Regions from separate parts of the Homo sapiens genome. Here all the other regions are linked to region 1. Evidence: promoter capture Hi-C in 16 types of primary human blood cells and fetal thymus (Javierre and others, 2016). All regions are on one chromosome and are shown on one strand. The core of a region is centred on a gene start or on the middle of the fragment in contact, and the rest is flanking DNA. Distances in the headings are between cores, read along the strand shown. Region 1 holds the start of TMEM258 (transmembrane protein 258). Region 2 overlaps INCENP (inner centromere protein). Region 3 overlaps LINC02733 (long intergenic non-protein coding RNA 2733).

What was found. Contacts are between HindIII fragments. The CHiCAGO score rates a contact against its expected background, and 5 or more counts as called.
Region 2: a contact is called between a fragment that was not itself captured here and the fragment with the promoter of TMEM258 in region 1, in 1 of 17 cell types (total CD8 T cells). The highest score is 5.4, in total CD8 T cells.
Region 3: a fragment that was not itself captured here is called in contact with the fragment with the promoter of TMEM258 in region 1 in 2 of 17 cell types (neutrophils and monocytes); the score reaches 9.4 in neutrophils.

The regions. Positions count from the first base shown.
Region 1 is chr11:61,791,155-61,793,992 of GRCh38, reverse strand. It overlaps TMEM258 (transmembrane protein 258), which reads left to right and starts at 1,394. Exons shown (of 4, transcript NM_014206.4): 1 at 1,394-1,437. The coding sequence starts at 1,435. It overlaps FEN1 (flap structure-specific endonuclease 1), which reads right to left and starts at 1,082. Exons shown (of 2, transcript NM_004111.6): 1 at 965-1,082. MIR611 (microRNA 611) reads left to right here and starts at 1,432; the gene lies at 1,432-1,498. RefSeq lists enhancers at 193-1,168, 1,082-1,376, 1,169-2,146. The HindIII fragment of the contact is 6,270 bases long and covers 1,002-2,838 here.
Region 2 is chr11:62,132,817-62,135,654 of GRCh38, reverse strand. All of the region lies in intron 4 of INCENP (inner centromere protein), which reads right to left. Among named protein-coding and RNA genes, the nearest start is that of INCENP, 10 kb to the right of the region's middle. The HindIII fragment of the contact is 213 bases long and covers 1,236-1,448 here.
Region 3 is chr11:62,064,516-62,067,353 of GRCh38, reverse strand. All of the region lies in intron 1 of LINC02733 (long intergenic non-protein coding RNA 2733), which reads left to right. Among named protein-coding and RNA genes, the nearest start is that of LINC02733, 16 kb to the left of the region's middle. The HindIII fragment of the contact is 8,726 bases long and covers 1-2,838 here.

The DNA.
Region 1 (2,838 bases), core at 145-2,644:
CAAGACCCTGTCAAGAAAAGAAAAGAAGACAAAAGAAAAGAGAAAGAAGAAACGAAAGACTCCATCAGGCCTTTTCATTGTTCCCACTCTTTCTTCACAGGGTTCTTTCTAGAGCATCAATGACTGTTCAATTCTTCCTTCTAATTCAGTCCAAACACTTCAGCATGGCATCACGATCTTTCATGTTCTGGTTCCCAACCTAACCCTACATTCTGGGATCTCAACAGAAAGCTGGAATAAGGCCCGCCTTTTCCCACTTTTCCTTAGCTGTGCCCTCCTCTCGCCATCCTCTCACGCGTCCTTCCAGGTCCATCCCTGGATTATTAATCAATTAATAATTAATTGACAATGAATTATTCATTTGATTAATATGAATAATTCCCCTGTGAACTGCAGCGGCAAAAGCTCTGGCCTTGAATCTAGGCGCGGCATTTACCATCCGTGTGACATTACCAAGCCACTGAGGTTTATTTTCTCGTCTACAGAAGAAGAACGATTACCATGCCTGTCTCTCAGGGCTGCTGCCAGGGTTAACTGAGACAACAGACAGAAACCTCTAATGTCCCCTCTCCAGGCCTGTTCAACCCTTCGGCTCTTGCCTCAAGCCGGCCGCGCTGCTGGAGTGTGGACTGAGGACCAGACCATGTAGCCCTTGATCCCCTCACGGCGTCCCACAGACAGGTAGGCAGGAAAGGGGCCTAAACAACTCAAGTGTCAGAAATGTTTCTCGTCCAAGGTCTTAGGAAAAATACAACACGACCCCATAAGGTGGAACTTATTACCGCTTTTCTACAATGGAGGAAAGAGAGGCTCGGAGCTTACGCGACTGGCCCAAGGCTCACAGGGGGAAAAGTGGCGGGACCTCTTGACTGCGAATCCCGCGCACTCCAGACCCCGGCTCCCCACGGCCCCCAGCGCCAAGCGGACCCCGTCGCTCCCGGAGGCGCTTCCCATGGGGTCTCACCTGGCCTTTGGGACACGCGGCCTCGGCGGCTAAAGCTTGGTTCGGGGTTGCCCCGGGCAGGCGGTCCTAAGCTCGCTCTCCCTTCTCAGCTTAGCGGCGGGTGGCCTGACGTTCAGCCGCCTTCCAAAGCCCGCGCTCCCGTCACGTGACCTGCTCGCCACGCACAGCCTCTTGGGGCGCGTAGTGCAGGCTGCGTCCCCTCAGACGGCTGCTCTCATGGCAACCAGTCCCTCCAGGGAGAACAGAGTCTCTCAGCGACCCTGGCGTACCCTTCTCCACCGCTTGTCCCCACTCCACCCACACCAGGTCCCCGCAGGCCCCTGCTCCCTCTACACCCGAAATCGCAGGACTACAAGTCCCTCAATGCCACTTGCGCCGGAGGCACTTCCTTTTCCGGTTGTGCTAGGCGCCTGCTCCTGCCGACGTGTTCTTCCGGTGGCGGAGCGGCGGATTAGCCTTCGCGGGGCAAAATGGTGAGAGCGTTGAGGGGAGTTCCAGACGGAGATGCGAGGACCCCTCGGGGTCTGACCCACACCGCGCTTATCTCCTCAGACGCCGGAGATCCAGAGGGCTAGACGCTCCTGGAACCTCCGGCTTGGGCTGAAGGGTGGGGAAGGGGGAAGCCCCTTGCCATGAACTCCTTAGGTTTCTCAGCTCGCGATTTCTAAGGGCGAGAGGCGTGGGGCGAATTTTGAATACCTTCCAGTTTGTATATCTCTGTTATCGGTGGTGTGTTATCTTTATTTGGAAAGTTCTTCTGCCGAACCCGTGCCCATCCTACAATGCCCTGGGCAAATGTTTATTGGTGAAGCACTTCCAACTCTCAGGCACTTGGCCAGACTTTCCTAGGAGCGCCCACAGCCTCTGTACAGATCTCTGGCCACGTTCCATGGACTTCTTTGTTTTCGGCCACGCCTCCTAGTGACCACCGTCTGACGCGCATCTAGCTCTGGGATGATGTCTATTCATCTTTGTATTCTCAGTGCCAAACAGAGGGCCCGTAATTGGAAGCTCAATAAATGGCAGTGATTGTCTTTATCATTTTGGGGGAAGGGGGCCGTGATTGTTTACTGAATTGAATTCCAGTGTCTCAGAACAATGGGGGCAGTTTACTTCTCTAGAGTTGTTATGTTCTGGATTTTAGAAGCATTGGCTGACCGGTGACAATGAAGTTAACATTTGTACAGATCTTTACGTTTACAGCCCTCTTTCATAAAAGACATTATCTCATCATCTTCCCTACAGCCTTAGGAAGGAAGCAAATACCTGTTGAGCAAAATACTCCCTGCTAGGCACTAGATGCTTTGATTCATCATCTTTCTTATTTTTCAGTTCTGTGAAATAGATATTACAGTCGCTTTACTCAGACTCAGATTACTCAGAACCAGAACTTGAATGTCTTGACCATAGCTCACAAGATTCCATAATAGCATAGGTAGTGAGGAAAATACTGAATTAGAAATTGAGGGCCAGGCGCGGTGGTTCACTCCTGTAATCCCAGCACTTTGGGAGGCTGAGGCGAGCGGATCAGGAGGTCAGAAGTTCAAGACCAGCCTGGCCAGCAAGGTGAAACCCTGTCTCTCCTAAAAATACAAAAAATTAGCCGGGCATGGTGGTTCACGCCTGTAATCCCAGCTGCTCGGGAGGCTGAGGCAGGATAATCACTTGAACCCAGAAGGCGGAGCTTGCAGTGAGCCGAGTTGGCACCACTGCACTCCAGGCACTCCAGCCTGGGCGATAGAGCAAGACTGTCTGGAAAAAAAAAAAAATTGAGCCTGGGCGCGGCAACTCACACCTGTAATCTCAGTACTTTGGGAGGCCGAGGCAGGCAGATCACCTGAGGTCAGGAATTCAAGACCATCCTGGCCAGCATG
Region 2 (2,838 bases), core at 93-2,592, 340 kb before region 1:
GACGTGCATAACTTGGTGAAACAATATTTTCGAAATGATCGATGTATGTGGTTATGAAATCAGACACATCTAAAAGATCCATTCAAAGTGTGGCCAGTTGTGGTGGCTCACGCCTGTAATCCCAGCACTTTGGGAAGCCGAGGCAGACGGATGATTTGAGGTCAGGAGTTTGAGACCAGCCTGGCAACATGGTGAAACCCCGTCTCTACTGAAAAGACAAAAATTATCCGGGCGTCGGTGGGCACCTGTAATCCCAGCTACTCGGGAGGCTGAGGCAAGAGAATCACTTGAACCGGGAGGCAGAGGTTGCAGTGAGCTGAGATCGCACCACTGCACTCCAGCCTGGGCGACAGAGTGAGATTTCATCTCAAAAACAAAACAAAACAAAAAAAAACAAAACAAAGTGCAAGGTAGACCCGTGTGGAATCAGCAACATGGTTTCAGATTCCACACCACAACAAACCTTTAAGAACTACCACTTCTTGCGCTGGTCCTGATAACAAAGAATATGCATAATTATCTGAAAAAGCTATGAAGATACTCCTCCCTTTCCCAACTACACGTCTATGTGAGGCCAGATGTTCTTTAGCTACTTTTTTTTTTTGAGACAGAGTCTCACTGTATCACCCAGGCTGGAGTGAAGTGGCGTGAATTCAGCTCACTGTAACCTCCACCTCCCGGTTTCAAGCAATCCTCCTGCCTCAGCTTCCTGAGTAGCTGGGACTACAGGCACGTGCCACCACGCCCAGATAATTTTTTGTATTTTCAGTAGAGACAGGGTTTCACCATGTTGGCCAAGACAGTCTCAATCTCTTAACCTCATGATCTGCCCACCTCGGCCTCCCAATGTGCTGGGATTACAGGTGTGAGCCACCTCGCCCGTCCAGTTCTTCAGTTACTTTAACCCAAACAACACAATGCAACAACAGATCAAACGCAGAATGTGGCTTATTTAAAGTCATACAATAAAGAGATTTGCAAAATGTAGAATAATGCCAGTGTCTTCAGTACATTTTTGTTTTGGAAAAGTTATTTTTTCATAAAAAGTCTTAATGTAAACAGGTGATAGGCTTGGTACTTGCATTTTATAATGTTAAAATATTAAACAATATTTTTAAATCTTTAAAGTACTAAATATTCATATAAAAATATTAATATTTAAAATACTTTTAAACTCCTCAGTTTTAATTTTTAATACAGTAACGATCAATAGATATAACCTCATAATCAAAGCTTTTTTTTTTTTTTTTTTAACAGAGTCTCACTCTGTCTGGAGTGCAGTGGCACAATCTCAGCTCAGTGCAGCCTCGACCTCCTGGGTTCAAGCAATCCTCCCACCTCAGCCTCCTGAGTAGCTGGGACTACAGGCACATGCCACCATACCTGGCTAATTTTTTCCATTTTGGTAGAGATAGGGTCTGGCCATGTTGTCCAGGCTGTCAAAAGCTTTTTGAGGCTGAGGCTTAATCATTAAAAACAGGAAGCCCAGGTCCCTCACCCTCAGCACTCACCCTGGTATCCTCACCACAGCTGCTAGCTTTATGTCCCCGGCTTCTTCCTAGCTGGGAGCATGCCTGTTCCCAGTGCCACTGGTCTAGGGAGAAGGAGGGCCAAGGCCATGAGGCAGGAAAAAAAGAGGCTTTTTTGGGGAACAGAGAGAAGGTAGCTGAGCTGGCGCATCCTGAGCCATGGGGGCTTGGTCAGAGTTCAGGCTGGGAGGTGGCCAGCGGGAGGTTGGGGTGCACAGGGTCTCAGGAAAAGAGGGAAGACAGCAGGCCAGGCACAGAGAAGGGAAGCCAGGACCCTTCCTGGGTATAGCAGCCAGGTTTGGGGAGGTGGTGGGAGCAGCTGCAGCGCCGGGCTGACAGTCATGGGTGGTGATGACCCCCATTTAAGGGGTTTATACCCAGAAGATACATCCTCCTCATCTCCCCATGCTGTGTCATCCCAGCTCACGTGCTCCCTGATGAAGACGCCCATGTGACTACATGGCTCTCCCACCAGCACAAGCATTCTCTGGAATGCTAAGTGCCATCTGCACGACATTCAGGCCTCAGAGCTGGTCTGGTGGTAGGGAAGTGGCCTAAGCACTGGCAGAGGGATGGAAGGACTGTTCTCCAATGCAGAGGTGGCTCGAACGCCCCAAGGTGGAGTCCTGAGGCAGTGGGCCTGTCCCTTCCTATCCACTTCAGAACTGCTGCCCGATGGGCCCCGCAGGCACGTGCGCACCAGGCCAGGAGGCAGGGGATTCCTGCTGACACACAGCAGTTCCACGCCCCGGGGCCACACTCTGGCTTCCAGAAGCCCCCTCCACCCACGCTGACTGCTGGCTTTTTTTCCTATCTCATTTTTCCATTCCTCTGGTGCAGGTGTTTCCTTCCCATCCCGAATTTAATTTTTGGGAAATTAAATTTGTTAATTTCCCAAAAATTAACAAATTGAACTCAAATCCTTGTGTCAAGGGCTGCTCGTGGGGAACACCCAAACCAAGACCCCACCTTGGAGCTGCCCGAGAGCCTCTCCCAGAGCCTGGTATCAGGAAGACCCCCAGGAAGCCTCCTCCCCTGTCACCGCCCCACTCCCTGACACCCTTGCAGCTCCTCACTAGGGGTCGGCCTTGTCGCACCCAAACTGAGCATCAGCCATTGGTGAGTTTTCTCAAATAAGATGTACTGAGTATCCACTACACTCAAGCACTAAGATGAGTTATCTATTCACATTCAAAGCAAGTGTTATCACCATTTCACAGAAAAGCTGAGGTTGAGAGAAGGGGTGTGCCCAAGGTCACCCAGGGTCTGTGTGACTCCAGATCCTAGATCCTGTATCCTCCTCTCTCTC
Region 3 (2,838 bases), core at 215-2,714, 270 kb before region 1:
AAGGGTCAAGGATGCAAGATCTTGCCCCCAGCATCTTTGATCTTTCATTATATTCTTCCCTGATTCTCGGTTCCAAGCCCAGGGGTACAGTCCTGTGACCTCTACAGTGAAAAATCAATCACTTTGTCCAGCCTTTGTTTTATCTACCTGGTATAGGTCGCATTGTGTCCCCTCAAAAGATATATTCAAGTCCTAACCCCAGTCCCTGTGAACATGATTTTATTTAAAAATAAGATCTTTTCTGGCTGGGCGCGGTGGCTCACGCCTGTAATCCCAGCACTTTGGGAGGCCAAGGCGGGTGGATCACAAGGTCAAGAGATTGAGACCATCCTGGCCAACATGATGAAACCCCGTCTCTATTAAAAGTATAAAAATTAGCTGGGCGTGGTGGCGGGTGCCTGTAGTCCCAGCTACTCGGGAGGCTGAGGCAGGAGAATCGCTTGAACCCAGGAGGTGGAGGTTGCAGTGAGCCGAGATCATGCCATTGCACTCCAGCCTGGGCGACAGAGCGAGATGCTGTCTCAAAAAATATAAAAATTAAAAAAAATAAGATCTTTTCTTTCCTTTTATGTTTTAGTTTTTTTTGAGACAGGGACTCACTCTGTCGCCCAGGCTGGAGTGCAGTGGCGAAACCTTGGCTCACTGCACTCTCCATCTCCCAGATTCAAGAGATCCTCCTGCTCCAGCTTCCCAAGTAGCTGCAACTATAGGCACGCACCACCACTCCTGGCTAATTTTTGTATTATTTTGTAGAGACAGACTTTCGCCATGTTGCCCACGCTGGTCTCGAACTCCTGGGCTCAAATGATCCTGCCACCTTGGCTTCCCGTAGTGTTGGGATTACAGGCATGAGCCACCACGCCCAGCCTGGAAATGTGATCTTTTTTAGCTGAGTTAAAATAAAAAAAGAAATAGGATCTTTACAGATGTAACCAAGTAAAAATAAGGTAATACTGGATTCAGGTGGGCTATAACTTCTTCTTTGTAAGAAGAGAGAAATTTGGTCACAGAGGCAGAGACACACACAGAAAGAACACAGCCATGTAAGATGAAGACAGAATCAGGGTGATGCAGTTACAAAGCCAAGGAATGGTATGGATAGCTGGCAACAACCAACAGCTGAAGACTCCTAATTGAGGAAGGAGTCTTGCCTGGAAATTTTGGACTTTTCACCTTCAAAGCTATGAGAGAATAAATCTGTGCTGTTTTGTTTGTTTGTTTGTTTGTTTGTTTGTTTTGAGATGAAGTTTTGCTCTTGTTGCCCAGGCTGGAGTGCAGTGGCGCAATCTCAGCTCACCACAACCTGTGCCTCCCAGGTTCAAGCAATTCTCCTGCCTCAGCCTCCCGAGTAGTTCAGATTACAGGCACCCGCCACCATGCCCAGCTAATTTTTGTATTTTTAGTAGAGACGGGGTTTCTCCGTGTTGGTCAGGCTGGTCTCGATCTCCCAACCTCAGGTGATCCACCCACCTCGGCCTCCCAAAGTGCTGGGATTACAGGTGTGAGCCACCACGCCCGGCCTAAATCTCTGCTGTTTTAAGCCACCCAGCTTGTGGCACTTTGTGACGGCACCCAGAGGACACTAATACAGTCCCTAAATATACCTTCCTTTGAACTCCTCTGGCATGCATCAACTGTGTGTGCAGTTGGATGCTGAACTAACCATAGAGACCAGCATGTATCTTCCATGTGCTTCTCACATTCCCACCACCAGCTCACTAAGGGCTGGATGTTGTCGTTTGGTGTCTTGGCATCACCCACAACAGTTTGTGGAGTGCTGGTGTGAGAGAAGTCCCCTTGTAAGTTGAAATTGAATGAAGAATGGAAATATCAACAGATCAACTGCTAGATAGGGGCTACAAGGCAATGACTCAGATTCATGATAGATCTAGGGGTCTTTGCTGCCTGTGAAAGCCCTGAGTTGATACAGATTTGGGTTTAATTTCGGCCTTCTCCATACTTTATCTTTATCCCTCAAATTCAGGCTTTAGCTGCTGTTCTCCAATTCCTCCAAGGCTGGACACTGTGGAAAGAGTTTTTAAGGCTTCTTCTCTGCCTGATACTTCTGGTCTGAGTGCTGGTGAGGGAGGCACCAAGATGGAGGGACGTTAAAGGGCTTTGTCCTTGATCCTCTCTTCATTTGCTCCATCGGTAGGTGGGTATCCAAGTCTGGTGGTGTTCATCAGGGCCTTCCCAGGCAAAGGAGGAAGGAACATTGGAAGAGAAGATCAAGGGGGAGAAATAGCCCACAAGAAAGCAGAAGAAATAGGCTGGGCGCTGTGGCTCATGCCTGTAATCCCAGCACTTTGGGAGGCCGAGGTGGGTGGATCTTCTGAGGTTGGGAGTTTGAGACCAGCTTGACCAACATGGAGAAACCCCATCTCTACTAAAAATACAAAATTAGCCAGGCGTGGTGGCAGGTGCCTGTAATCCCAGGTACTCCGGAGGCTGAGGAGGAGAATCACTTGAACCCAGAAGGCAGAGGTTGTGGTGAGCCAAGACCAGGCCATTGCACTCCAGCCTGGGCAACAAGAGTGAAACTCAAAAAAAAAAAAAAAAAAAAAAAAAGGAAAAAAGATAGCAGAAGAAATAGAAAGCTCCAGGGAAAAGTGAAAACTTCAGAGCTGGTTAGTTGGTGTGACATTATGATACATATGTATTGGTTCTCACCCATGGTTTCTGGCTCATAACTCCCATAGCCCTTGTCATAGTCTTTTGTGATAATATTGGGGTGTTTTAGGCCTCTGACCCAGCCTCAGAAAACAGAATCTCTCTCCCTGACCTTCTCCTGCCCTCCTTTTACCTGCTCCTTTTTCTCCCCAAGGCAGTAATCATTTT